4 separate regions of the Homo sapiens genome follow, and regions 2, 3 and 4 are each linked to region 1. The links are contacts of gene promoters, found by promoter capture Hi-C in blood cells and fetal thymus (Javierre and others, 2016). All regions are on one chromosome and are shown on one strand. Each heading gives the region's core, a stretch centred on a gene start or on the middle of the fragment in contact. The rest is flanking DNA. Distances are from core to core; before and after follow the strand shown.

Region 1 (3,005 bases), core at 180-2,679:
CTTGGCTGTGTTCTCAAGCCCTAAATAAATGCAGTGAAGAGAACCCCCTGCGGCTCTAACAAGATTACGTGGCCCGACCAGGATGACACCCCCCATTCCCTCGAGGATCAAGGTGCCAGCCATCTTGCTTACCTTACTTATGGGGATTCGCCTTCCCTCTGCGATGGTCTTCTTATTATTTAAATAAGCAGGATAGATACAAATAAACCTGCCATAGACAATAGCATAAGTGGTATCACTAGAGCAGTAAGAGGCAGGAGAAAAGGGTCGGGTGGCAGGGAACCAAAGGCCAATTCATGCTGCCTAGATATCAGATGGGTACTCCCTTTTCAACCCCTCCTTTTTCTGCGTGGCAGTTGAAAAATCAAAGTACCTCGGAGTGGTCCCCTCGAGCAACTAATCAGACTGGCCGCGGGCCTACTCCTCTTTCTGATTGATCCCCCTCCCTCAACCAATCAGACTGGCACAGGTCAATGGGAAACGTCTAGAGGGTATTTAAACCCTAGAAAATTCTGTAACCAACAGCTCTTGGGTAGCTTGCTGGAGCCGGCTCCCACCCTGTGGAGTGTACTTTTGTTTAAAATAAATCTGCTTTCGCTGCCTTGCTTTGTGTGTTTTGTTCAATTCCTTATTCAAAACGCCAAGAACCTGGACAACTACACTCAACAGATAACAAGTATTTTCAAAAATACATTCTTTCGGTCCGTGGTAGTCGTCATCATTGCTGGTACACCTATGCTATTATTTGCTTAATGTTATTTCTTTAAATTACCTCACTTTAACTTATTTAAAAATAAACTTTATCCACTACCTTGGATGGAAAAAAACCACAGGAATAGAAACAAAACGACTTGGGTAACTGTTACATTAGACAGAGCAGCCCGTCAAAAGTTCCTGAGAATGGGCCCGCCCTCTTATATAAAGTGTCCGAGGTATTAAAAACCTTAAAATTTCACAAATGAGCCTTTCTGAACGCAACAATACTTAAAAAGAACACATTTCTCACACTGTGATTATATTACTTGATATCATGTCCACGTAGCACCCAAAATCCTTGTCTCGCGTACAGATAAACACTAGGCTACCTATGGTCGGAATTTCAGGAGCCCTGAGAAGAGCCTGGTGGCTGCTGCAGGATTCAGAAAAACGAGCTGCCAGGGAGAGGCGCGGGGCCCGTACAGAGCGAGTTGGATCAGCTAGGCCATTCTGGAGGCCGCGGAGCGGAGAAGCGCGGTGTAGCACCTGCAGCACCACAGCAAGCCCCTTCCTTTCGGAGGACCCACCGCCTCAGAACCCACCTGTCCTGGTCGGCCGGGGACCGCGCGGCAGCGCAAGCCATCTTCACAAGAGTCTCAACAACCCAGGAGCCGCAGGGAGAAACCCGGCAGAAACCCGGGAGGAACCCGGCTCTGAGTTTCCGAGACAGCCCGCTTTTCCGCCGGAAGTCCTGCCCAAGAAATGGTTCCGCGTCCGCGATTTCTCATCGCCTGTTTGTTCCGGCACCTGTCGCTCGGCGCCAGGATCTCTAGTCTCTGACGTGGCATGAAGACTTCCCTTCTCGCGAGAGAATCATGAAAGCTTCTCATTCCTTTCCCAAGCCGGGAAGACCATGTGGGGCGCATGCACCGCCACTAAAAAGGGTTTAACTTCGACCCTCCCTCGTTTCCAGTTTCTCAGCGAGTATGGGTGGTACTAGCTACTCTCTGTTAAGGGGCGAAGACTGTGCCACGAGGGGAATCTGTGTGGTTCAGGATGCAAATATATGTTAGACAGGGAAGGAAATACTCCTTACGTTTAATTTTTCTCCGTTCCTGGGCTCTAGAGCTTGCTTTCAGTTTGGCAAAATGGATTTTTGTAGTGGTAGAACTAGCAAAGTTATAGACGTTGTGTTTCAGTGTGCTCTGCGTTAGAAACTTAGCTATTCACCTTTTAGGCCGGGTGCGGTGGCTCACGCCTGTATCCCAGCACTTTGGGAGACTGAGGCAGGTGGATCATGAGGTCAGGAGTTGGAGAGCAGCCTGGCCAACATGCTGAAACCCCGTCTGTACTAAAAATACAAAAATTAGCCGAGTGTGGTGGCACACGCCTGTAATCCCAGCTACTCGGAGGCTGAGACAGGAGAATCACTTGAACCCAGGAGGTGGAGGTTGCAGTGAGCTGAGATCACACCACTGCACTCCAGCCTGCGTAACAGAGCAAGACTCCGTCTAGGAAAAACGAAACAAAACTATTCACCTTTTAAAACTTCTGAAGGATACCATGTGCCATCACTACAGGCATACTTCATTATTGCACTTCACTTGCTGCTGCGAGTAGATACTGCCTTTTTACAAATGGAAGGTTTTTGGCAAATCCGCCTGAAAGAAGTTGCTTGGTGCCATTTTTCCAGCAGCGTATACTTTGTGTCACATTTGGTAATTTTTGCAATATTTCAAACCTTTTCATTATTTCTGTTATGGTGATCGGTGATCAGTGATGTTTGCTGTTACTATTGTAATAGTTTTAAGGCCGGGTGCGGTGGCTCACGCCTGTAATCCCAGCACTTTGGGAGGCCGAGGCAGGTGGATCACGAGGTCAGGAGATAGACACCATCTTGGCCAACATGGTGAAACCCCATCTCTACTAAAATATAAAAAATAAGCCAGGCATGGTGGCACAGGCCTTTAGTCCCAGCTACTCGGGAGGCAGGGGAATCTCTTGAACCCAGGAGGTGGAGGTTGCAGTGAGCCAAGATCACACCACTGCACTCCAGCCTGGCGACAGTGCAAGACTCCGTCTCAAATAATAATAATGTTTTGGGGCACCATGAACCATGCCCAGATAAGATGGGGAACTTAATGGATAAATGTTGTGTATGTTTTAACTGTTCGACCAACTGGCCATTTCCCATCTCTCTCCCTCTTCTGGAGTCCCTATTCCCTGAAACACAACAATGTTGAAATTAGGCCAGTTAGTAACCCTACAATGGCCTCTAAGTATTCAAGTGAAAGGAAGAGTCACACGTC
Region 2 (3,005 bases), core at 337-2,836, 1.3 Mb after region 1:
TGGTGAAACCCTGTCTCTACTAAAAATACAAAATTAGTTGGGCAGGGTAGCGGGTGCCTGTAATCCCAGCTACTTGGGAGGCTGAGGCAGGAGAATCACTTGAACCCGGGAGGTGGAGGTTGCACTGAGCCGAGATTGCACCACTGCACGCCAGTCTGGCGACAGAGCGAGATTCCGTCACACACACACACACACACACAAAGGAAACTTGGATACAGGAATGGCACACAGGGAGAATGTCATGTGAAGATGAAAGCAGATGTCGGGGTAATGTGACCGACAAGTTAAGGAATGCCAAAGGTTGCCAGCAAACCACCAGAAGCTTGGGGGAGGCATGAAACAGACTCTCTTATAGCCATCAGAAGGAGCTAGCCTTGCAGACACCTTGATCTTAGACTTCTAACCTCTATAACTTTGAGATAATAAATTTCTCCTGTTTAAAGCACCCAGTTTTTCGTATTTTGCTATGGCAACCCTAGCAAGCTAATATAGGCTTGTATTCATAATGCCCTAAAATCAGGAACTTCAATGGTAGGGCAACATGCTTTATTTGACCTATATTCATTGTGTACCCAAAATGCTTTGGAGATATGCTTGTAAATTGTTGGAGTCACAGTGCTCCTTCAGAGCACCCTCATTATTGCTTCAGTGTGGAAGTGCAGACAATTGACTTTTTCAACACTGTGTAGAGGCACCAAATTATCAGACTCATAAATCTTTTAGATTCTTGACCACAGGTTGAAATTCCCTGCCTCAGGTTTAAATTCTCTGTCCTTTCCTTAGCAGAGATCTATATTCCCTTTATTGTCCTTGAAGCCTGGCTAGATCTAGATATAGTTCAACTCTCTCTTGCAAAACGTTGCTGAAAGTAGCAGAAGCAACCAATTGACATCAATTGAATTTTTCCAGTGATCTAGCCTATAGCTACAGACTTGATAAGCATGTAATCGCCTTTCCAAGTTAGCTTAGGCAGGAATTTGTTCAATACCCTGCCACTGAATAACTATGGTCTCTAGTTTTCCAGACTGCTATGCTTGTTCTTACCATCTACTGCCTGGACTGCTAAGACAATGAAATGTGCATTAATATATTTTAGGGCAGCACCCTACTTCTAAATTCTCAGTTTTGTGTTGTTCAGTGTTCATTTGTAGAGAACAGAATCCAGTCTAGCTAGTTTAATCAGAAAAGGATTTAGTACAGGTTTTGTTATGGCTTAGAGAGTTGGCTGGAGGGCTAAAGAAACACTCCAAGAATGCTTTGAGAACAATACAACAGAGTTGGGCCACCAATGCAGGTGTTCTTATAGATACTGGAAAACTGCCATGATCACAACTCAATTTTGAGTCAGGACAGGGGATGGGGACAGAGAGACCCAGAGTGGAACTGCGGAAGAAATAGAAGCATGACTTCTACCTTGCACATCCCTCATGTGCGCATCTGATGAGCAGAATCTAAGTCAATCCAGAGCTGTATCTGTAAGAGTATCTGGACAATGTCTGTCATTCTGGACAGTAATGTCCAGAATCAAGGGTTCTATTTCCATGAGACAAAGGGGAAAGGAGATATTGAAGAACAAGTGGTCAGATTGTGAATGTAAATATTTGAAGTTTGTTTTGGCACAGAGTGGGCCCTTAACAATTGACAGACTTATGGAAGTATAAGACACGTGTCCTCCTTAGGAGAAAAAAATCAGAAATATAAGATCAGGTATGTAAAAGAAATCTATGTCACAATCGGAAATACAAGATCAGATACAAAGAACTCAATCACTTTGACCTTTTGCTCATTTTGGTGGAACACAACGTCCTCTGAGCTAGAATATTTGCAAATGTAACCTTATGTTTAACAAAGTTCATTCTCTGGAGCAACTGACTTTATAAAATAAAAATGCTGGCCCAATTGAATTCTCTTATACCTTGTTCTTTCTCAAGTGGTTTCACCATCCCATGCTTTCTAATACCCTTGATCCAAACAGATAAGAGCTCTCAGATGTATACCAAGCCTGGTTTTATCTGTTTAAATTTAAATCCTAAATCTAGATTTGTAAAATATATTTTAGAGCAGAGGTAAGCAACGTTTTTCTAGAAAGGGTCAGGTAGCAGTATTTTCAGCTTTGCAGGTCATACAGTGTCTGTTGCAGTTTCTCAGCCATGACATTGTAGCATAAAAGCTGTCATAGAGAGTGCGTGTGTGGATAAGTGTACTTACATCCCCAAAACACTCTTTACAACAAAGGTTGGGGGTGCTAATTTGGCACATAGACTGTGGTGTGCTTGCATGAAATAAATTTTAAAAAACCTCATCAGAGGTACCTTGCTGATCTCTTAAAAAGTGGACTCCAGTTGGGTCTTTTTCTTCCCTGCTATGGAGTCCATTCTTTCAAACACTGTACTTAGTTTAGCTCTGGTATTTGAAACAACTTTCTTCTGCTCGGTTTCACTTTAAAATCACATATCAATGTTCTTTGGACCATTTGGGAACTGAAACACAACATGAAATTTTGGAAACTTAGATAACCCCATCTTCATAATGGAGACATCAAGTTGCTACTAACTGTCTCAGATACACATGAAGCAGCCCAGTGTTTTTCTGTCAGCCTCAACTGTGGGCTGGATTCATCCATTGGCTTCTGACATTCTTTTCAATACCATGAGAACCTGTGAACTCACATGGCCTCTCACATCCAATTGGAAGTCCCAGGTAGCCCTAGTCTAGTTTATCCTATTGCTGCCCTGTCCTGACAGATTCTGTACTGAGAGGGAGAATAGAATAGTGAATAAGAGTACAGGAATCACACCTGACTTCTGCCACTCATTTGCTGTATGAACTTAAGGTAAGTACTTAAGCTTTCTAAGCTTTAATTTCCTAAGATGCAAGATAGGGATCATGATAGTGCCTACTTAGAGCAATGCCTGGACTATATATCAAGCACGTGATACATGTTATCTGTAATGGAGGATTTGGCGTCAGTTGTTTATATAATTTATGAGGATTATAATATTGTT
Region 3 (3,005 bases), core at 295-2,794, 1.1 Mb after region 1:
TGCTGAAAAGAAAAATTGCCCATTAAAAGTCAAGATTTGAAGTGCTGAACTTAATTCCTTGAGTCCAGTCCACAGTTTGGCTCCGATTACTGTACCAGGCTGACCTCCAGTCCAAGGGAGGGTGCCTTGGCAGAAATCTGAGAATTCCTCGATCAGTGACTCCCTTTTTTGGATTTATGGAGTCTTTAGGTGGATTGCTTTGTGCTAAATGTGCTCTTATTGGAAAGGAATGGGGCTGGAATGAGAGGAACACGATGTTGCACAACGTAAATGTTTGCAGCTGACCTCCGTGTTCACTATGCTTGAATTAGCTGGCTGTTGCTGCACCTGGCCTTGAACCATGTACCATCAAAGCCCAGAAAACTCACGTAATGAATGGTTTTAAGTCGTGGTGAAAAAGAAAAGTCGGGTAATTCTGTTAACCTTTTGTGGCTGGCTCCTGACCTGATTTCTTGCCCCCCTTGAAAGTCTTTGCTATTATTCTTAGAAATGAAATTTTAAAACACTCAGCAGCCAAACAAGCAGAATATTACATTGTGGAACAGAGTGACTGTGAAAGCTCTTTGTGCTGACGATTAATTTCACATGTAAACACTTTCATTTTGTTGCCAGCAAGGAGATTTCCTTTTCCTTTCTGTGCCTAGTTAAAGTCTAGAAATAAAATTCCACAGCTGTCAGGTTCCCACATATTCATCAGTGGCCTCTCAAGATGGCTTCACGATGAGCAGAGTGAATTTAGAGGATTCCACTATTAAAGTCTGCAAAGCTTGTTTCAGACACCCCAACTCATAAGATCAAGAATTGTAAATCTTTTGCCTTCCTGACATGTAATGTTGGACAGTAACATCATCTGTGGCATAATATTAATAAAATATGAACGCTTTCTGTGCCCGTAGTGGGAATACACACCCGAAGCGAAGCTAATGCCAATGGGTTTAACCAATTAGTGAGCCATCATTGTCTTCCTTATTGAAACACAGTTGTCTCCCCCAACCTCTATTTGTACATGTTAAGGACTTACCAGGCAATGAAACTCAAGGAGTGTCAGCAGGTGCCACAAAGGCCTTCCTTTCCTTTCTAGCAGGAGGGCATTTATGAGTCTAGAGTGCAGTAGTTGGGTGTTCATAATGCATACTCTGTAATTACCCATTGTTACCACAGCCAGCTCCAGTGTGTGTGTGTGTGTGTGTGTGTGTGTGTGTGTGTGTATGTGTGTGTTTAAATTAGGTCAGTGCATGTTTCGTTTAGCCCCCAAGCCAGAATGCTTGCCAACCTAAGCCCCAGCACTTTTATTCTGCTTTCCAGAATGTGCAGAGGTTACGTACATCATCTGAATGGCCCAGTGTTCTGCAGGCTTACCTTTTTGTCTTCCAGTGGCAACGTGTTTTCCCCACTGTGTGCTTCTTCTCCAAGCAGCATTCACAAGGTTAGGCAGATCTCTAAGACTACGTCTCTAGAGAGACAGCACAGTGCATCATCTTTTGGCACCATCTAATCTTTGATGTAATGTTGTTCAGAGAAAATGATCCTTGTAGCTCATTTATGGTTTCAGTTTACATTTGGCCCTCTCATATGACCAGTAACACCTGGGAACAGAGTGGCTTTTGAGGGAGATTCTTTATAGCACCACCTCAAAGGGTTTTTGCAGAAAGGAAGTGTATGTATATGCGCATGAATTCTCCTTGAATTACAGTACTAGGTTTCACAACCTCCTGGCTAGTTAGGCAGAATAAAACATGTACACATGCAGACACATACTATTTAATTGGCAGAAAGATTATGAAATATACCCCTTTGCTGCAGAAAGAATTGATTATACAGGTTGGACCCGTGCTGCCCTAGTCGGCTTTCCTAATTGCAGGAGACAGATACGCATACCCATCCTGTTAAGTTATAAAGGACCCGTGTGTGCATTCTTTAACCCTATAGGACCCCATCAGGGATAAAGAATAACATTACAGTTATGGTCGTTAACAACCAAACCATGCAACATATCTTCATGGCAGATTTCTGAAAATGTATGTTAACTAATGAAGTAAGCAGTATTTATGTGTGTGGTGTATTTAGCCTCTGCAAAAAGATATAATCCTGCCTTTAAGTATCATTCTCATAGAACAGTCTCCCCAAAGAAATATTGATAAAGACAGTAAATGAACAGAGGAAAATACAAATTTAGAAACAGGTAATAAGTAGATATGATTCAAATTTTACCTGCAATGTAGTAGAAGTGATAGGAAACATGTCCGAGAACTTTTAGATTGATTCTGTATTTGGACCATGCCATTGAAAAATAAATAGCAAATTTTGAAATGAAAAGCTTAAAAAGTGTTTGAAAAATAATTTAAGCAATAATCTAGTTTGCATATTTTTTAGGACCTTGGGGGACTGGTCTCTGAATTTTCCCACATTTCATTTTTCTCATTTGGAGCACTAGTTGTCAGCTATTAATAATAGTTTATACTAAGCAATAATTACCGGTGAGCTAATTACTTTATAGACTTTAAAAATGCAGTTATTTTTCATGATGCACTGTCCAAAGAGTAAAACAAGCCTCAAAAGAAAGGAAAGAAGGAAGGGAGGGACAAAACCCTGAGTATTTTATTTCCAATTTGTATGCTGTGATAGAATATTGAAACTTACCCAACTATCAATACATTCAAGAGAATCAGTACGAAATAGCACATTTTCACTATAAGTAATATTTAAATATATAGTGGGTTTAAGTATATTAATTATACCCAAAAGCATAAAATTGGTATTTCCTAAGAATTGATCAAGGATATCTAAATACAAGTCATGATTAGTATATTTTAAACCAGTGTGGTTCTTTATGACGTTCTGTTGTTTTTCAACCTAATTGTCAGTGAGATAAATATAGCATCATAGAAAAAGATGCATTAACCAATATATTCAGTGACAAGTATAAACACTCAAACTTCCCCAGAATTCAAACAAAACTGTTGCATATTCTCCAAATTAAAGTAACAAAATTTTCCTTCCCTCTA
Region 4 (3,005 bases), core at 365-2,864, 1.1 Mb after region 1:
GGCAACATGGTAACATGGTAAGTCTCCATTTCTTAAAAAAAAAAAAAGAAAGAAAGAAAGAAAGAAAAATTAACACTTCTCTGTGAAAGAACATCTTAGGGAAGTTTTACATAAACGTTAAAGTCCCTGTGTATGTATGTGTTTATATGTATGTTTCCTTGTAGAAGCAGCTTTTGAACAAATATCACTGGGATAGATTTTTGGTAGTCTGATTTGATGGTGCGCCCTTGGGGTCCTTTCCCAGCCTGACCCTGAGGTGAATGCCAAAGATCTCAATGTTGAGGTGCCCTTGAGCAGCGTGTTGGGGTTCCAGACTTGCAGATCAGCCCCCAGGCGTCTCCCCTCTCCCACCACCCAGCCTATGCCTTACACCTTCCTTCCAGTACTTCCCTGGCTGGTAAACTGGCCTGAAAGGGTCAAGGGAATTTGTTGAGTTTTATATTTCTTCCCTTTGTTCCTAGCTATGGCTGCCAAATCATCTTATTTTTGCAGGAAAATTACTGTGATGTTTTAGATTAATTCAGAGAAGCTTTCAGTGGGCTCCTTAAACATCATACCCAGTGCAGTCTAACAGGCATTTGTTGTGGCAATGGCTTTGTAGTTTTAAAGGTGACCTATAGTCCCAGCAACAAGCATACAGAGAACTCAGTGCATTCTTTTAGAATTGTGAGTGTAAAGTATTGCTTTTTAAGGTTTGCTATTGCTGTACCCAGTATGTTAAATCTAAAACATCAGACATTCTGTAAACACGTTTAAAAATTGAGTTTTGTAAATTTGCCTTATTTTCTTTGTTACAATGGAAAACATTGCTTTCAGTGATTAGGGGAAAAAGTGGATGGCAAATTTAGAAGACACTATGATCCTTTATATCTTTTTTTCTTGGAAAGGCAATTTAATTAGGAAATAATCTTCTCCTGTGACATCTGAGAGTTACCATAAAATGATATCCTGCTTTATTGGCAACAGAACCAGTTTATTTGAGTTTGTTGCAAAATTTTGAGCTATTACATTACTATGAAAAGATAGATTTTAAATAAGAACGACGAGTTTACAAAAATCAGAAATGGCAAAGCACTTTATTTTTTAAAGCAATCCTCGATTTTAAAAAGTACAATTTCAGACGGGCAGGCAGTGGGGGAGCGTATAGGGAAGGAGAAGGAAGCACCAGGGGAGTATGTCTTGGGCCGATCACGCCAGGCCGCAGCTCTGGCTGGTTGTGCGCGTGTGACTGTGTGCACGTGTGTGTGTGCACGCGCAGCCACAGGACCTCTGGGCCCGGCCTTCAGGGGCGCTCCCCGCCCCGGGCTTCCCCGCGGAAGGGAGTGGGGCGCGCGTACCCAGCTGAGGGGCAGGGTCCGACCCGAGGCCGTGTGCAAATGCATCCTTCGCGGACTCTTTGTGTGTCTGAGCGCGGCTCCGCGCCGCCGCAGGCACCATTTTCTGCTTCGCTCAGGACAGGCACATAAAAGGAAGGCGGCTGCCGCCCGTCGCCGTCCTCTTTTCCTCAGATGCCCTCTGCTGCAGGTTTATTATTACAGTACGGGCCGCGCCGCCTCTCCCCACGGCCCTGGCGGGCCGCCGGGCTGTGCAGCACCCTGGCCGCCTTCACGCTTGGCGCGCCCCCAAACCGCCTCCTCCACCTCCTTATTTGTCTGAAAAGCAACCGCACGTCGAGGCGGAGAGGCTGGCCGGGGGCGGGGAGGAAGGCCGGGGATTTGCGCGCGCCGTGCTCCCGGGGCGGGGCCGGGGCGCAGAGCTGCGGGTCCGCTTTGTCTCCCCGGGGCGCCGCGCGGTGCAGTGGGGACGGCGCGGCGAGCGGGGCGCCCGGGGCGCGGGTGCGGGGTGTCGGGGCGCGCGCGCCTGTTGGCCGCTCGCCGACGGGGCCCAGAGCCGCCGATTCCTGCCGAGTAAGCAGTCTGGCTCCTAGGCGGCTGCACAGTGGCAGCAAGGCTGGGGCGCTGGCTCCGCGCCAGCTCCATCAGAATTAGCTCATTGTTCACTAGCACCCTAGCGGGAGAGAGAGGGAAAGGGAGAGAGAGAGACTCTTAGAGAAAGAGAGAGACACACACACTCTTGGAGAGAGAGCGCGAGGCAGGGAGATGATCTCCTCCTCCTTTTTCCAAGGCTGCACTTCTTGGAAGTGAAGCCGGTTTGGGTTTTGTTTCCCTTCCCCCTCCTCCCTCCTCTTCCTCCACCCCTTTCCCCTCCCCCTCCCTCCCCCAATCCCCCCTCCCCCCCCAATCTGTCTTTCTAGCATGTTGCCCTTTTTCAACCACATTTGTGTTTCAGGTGTAGAGAGGAGAGAGAGTGAACAGGGAGCGGGGCTTTTGTCTGTAAGTATATGCCATTCCTATCCCCGGCTGGGAGCGCTGGTTTCTCTTTTGTGTCGATTCCTTGCCGTTGCTCTTAGCTGGACCCTTCAACCCTGCAGAGTTCATGCTTCTTCCCTCTAAATTTTAAAGAGCTGAAGCGTGTACCTTGGAGAAATTCTGGCATTTTGGTTGTGCTGCATTCAGGCTGGAATTTAACTTGGGTTTTTTCTAAAATGCACAAGTTCGGAGGGAGAAATGAATTCTTTTGGGAAGGGGTGGGGTTTTGTGCTTGTTGGTGTGGTTAATTTTGTTCTTCTTGCTCCTAAAGCCTTGTTAGAAACTGTTGTGTTTCTTTGCATTAAATGCACTTTGGTGCATGCAAGCTTTTCCTCCCTTTTTATAAAATGAATTTGTGTCCCTCCGCCCTTACACTTGATTACTCTTTCAATGCTGCTGCTTCCGAGGGTCTTCTTAGGCATTCGATCTTGCAGCACTTTTTTCTGCATTTTCTTATAAAGCAGTTGAACTTTGGCGGGGAGGGCCTTAAAAATAAATGACTGTTTTTTTCTTGGTGATTATAATAATCTGATGTGCATTTATGTGTATCTATAATAACATTATAGGAAAACTCTAAGAGCGAATGATACCCTTTTTGAGAACTTTTAGTTTCTCCATTCATCTTAATTTTTGTCA

The links. Contacts are between HindIII fragments. The CHiCAGO score rates a contact against its expected background, and 5 or more counts as called.
Region 2: a contact is called between a fragment that was not itself captured here and the fragment with the promoter of SRP19 in region 1, in 1 of 17 cell types (naive B cells). The highest score is 6.0, in naive B cells.
Region 3: a fragment that was not itself captured here is called in contact with the fragment with the promoter of SRP19 in region 1 in 1 of 17 cell types (fetal thymus); the score reaches 5.8 in fetal thymus.
Region 4: a fragment that was not itself captured here is called in contact with the fragment with the promoter of SRP19 in region 1 in 3 of 17 cell types (fetal thymus, naive B cells and total B cells); the score reaches 11.2 in fetal thymus.

The regions. Positions count from the first base shown.
Region 1 is chr5:112,859,711-112,862,715 of GRCh38, reverse strand. SRP19 (signal recognition particle 19) reads right to left here and starts at 1,429. Exons shown (of 5, transcript NM_003135.3): 1 at 1,299-1,429; 2 at 133-208. The coding sequence starts at 1,339. RefSeq lists enhancers at 1,132-1,431, 1,532-1,611, 1,370-1,664. The HindIII fragment of the contact is 2,166 bases long and covers 1-1,580 here.
Region 2 is chr5:111,519,911-111,522,915 of GRCh38, reverse strand. The region is part of intron 1 of STARD4-AS1 (STARD4 antisense RNA 1); the gene reads right to left. All of the region lies in intron 2 of LOC105369177 (a long non-coding RNA gene), which reads right to left. Among named protein-coding and RNA genes, the nearest start is that of STARD4, 8.9 kb to the right of the region's middle. The HindIII fragment of the contact is 2,524 bases long and covers 325-2,848 here.
Region 3 is chr5:111,740,028-111,743,032 of GRCh38, reverse strand. All of the region lies in intron 2 of NREP (neuronal regeneration related protein), which reads left to right. Among named protein-coding and RNA genes, the nearest start is that of NREP, 16 kb to the left of the region's middle. The HindIII fragment of the contact is 1,551 bases long and covers 769-2,319 here.
Region 4 is chr5:111,756,464-111,759,468 of GRCh38, reverse strand. NREP (neuronal regeneration related protein) reads left to right here and starts at 2,275. Exons shown (of 4, transcript NM_004772.4): 1 at 2,275-2,333. RefSeq lists silencers at 1,145-1,504, 1,525-1,924 and an enhancer at 2,518-3,005. The HindIII fragment of the contact is 2,166 bases long and covers 532-2,697 here.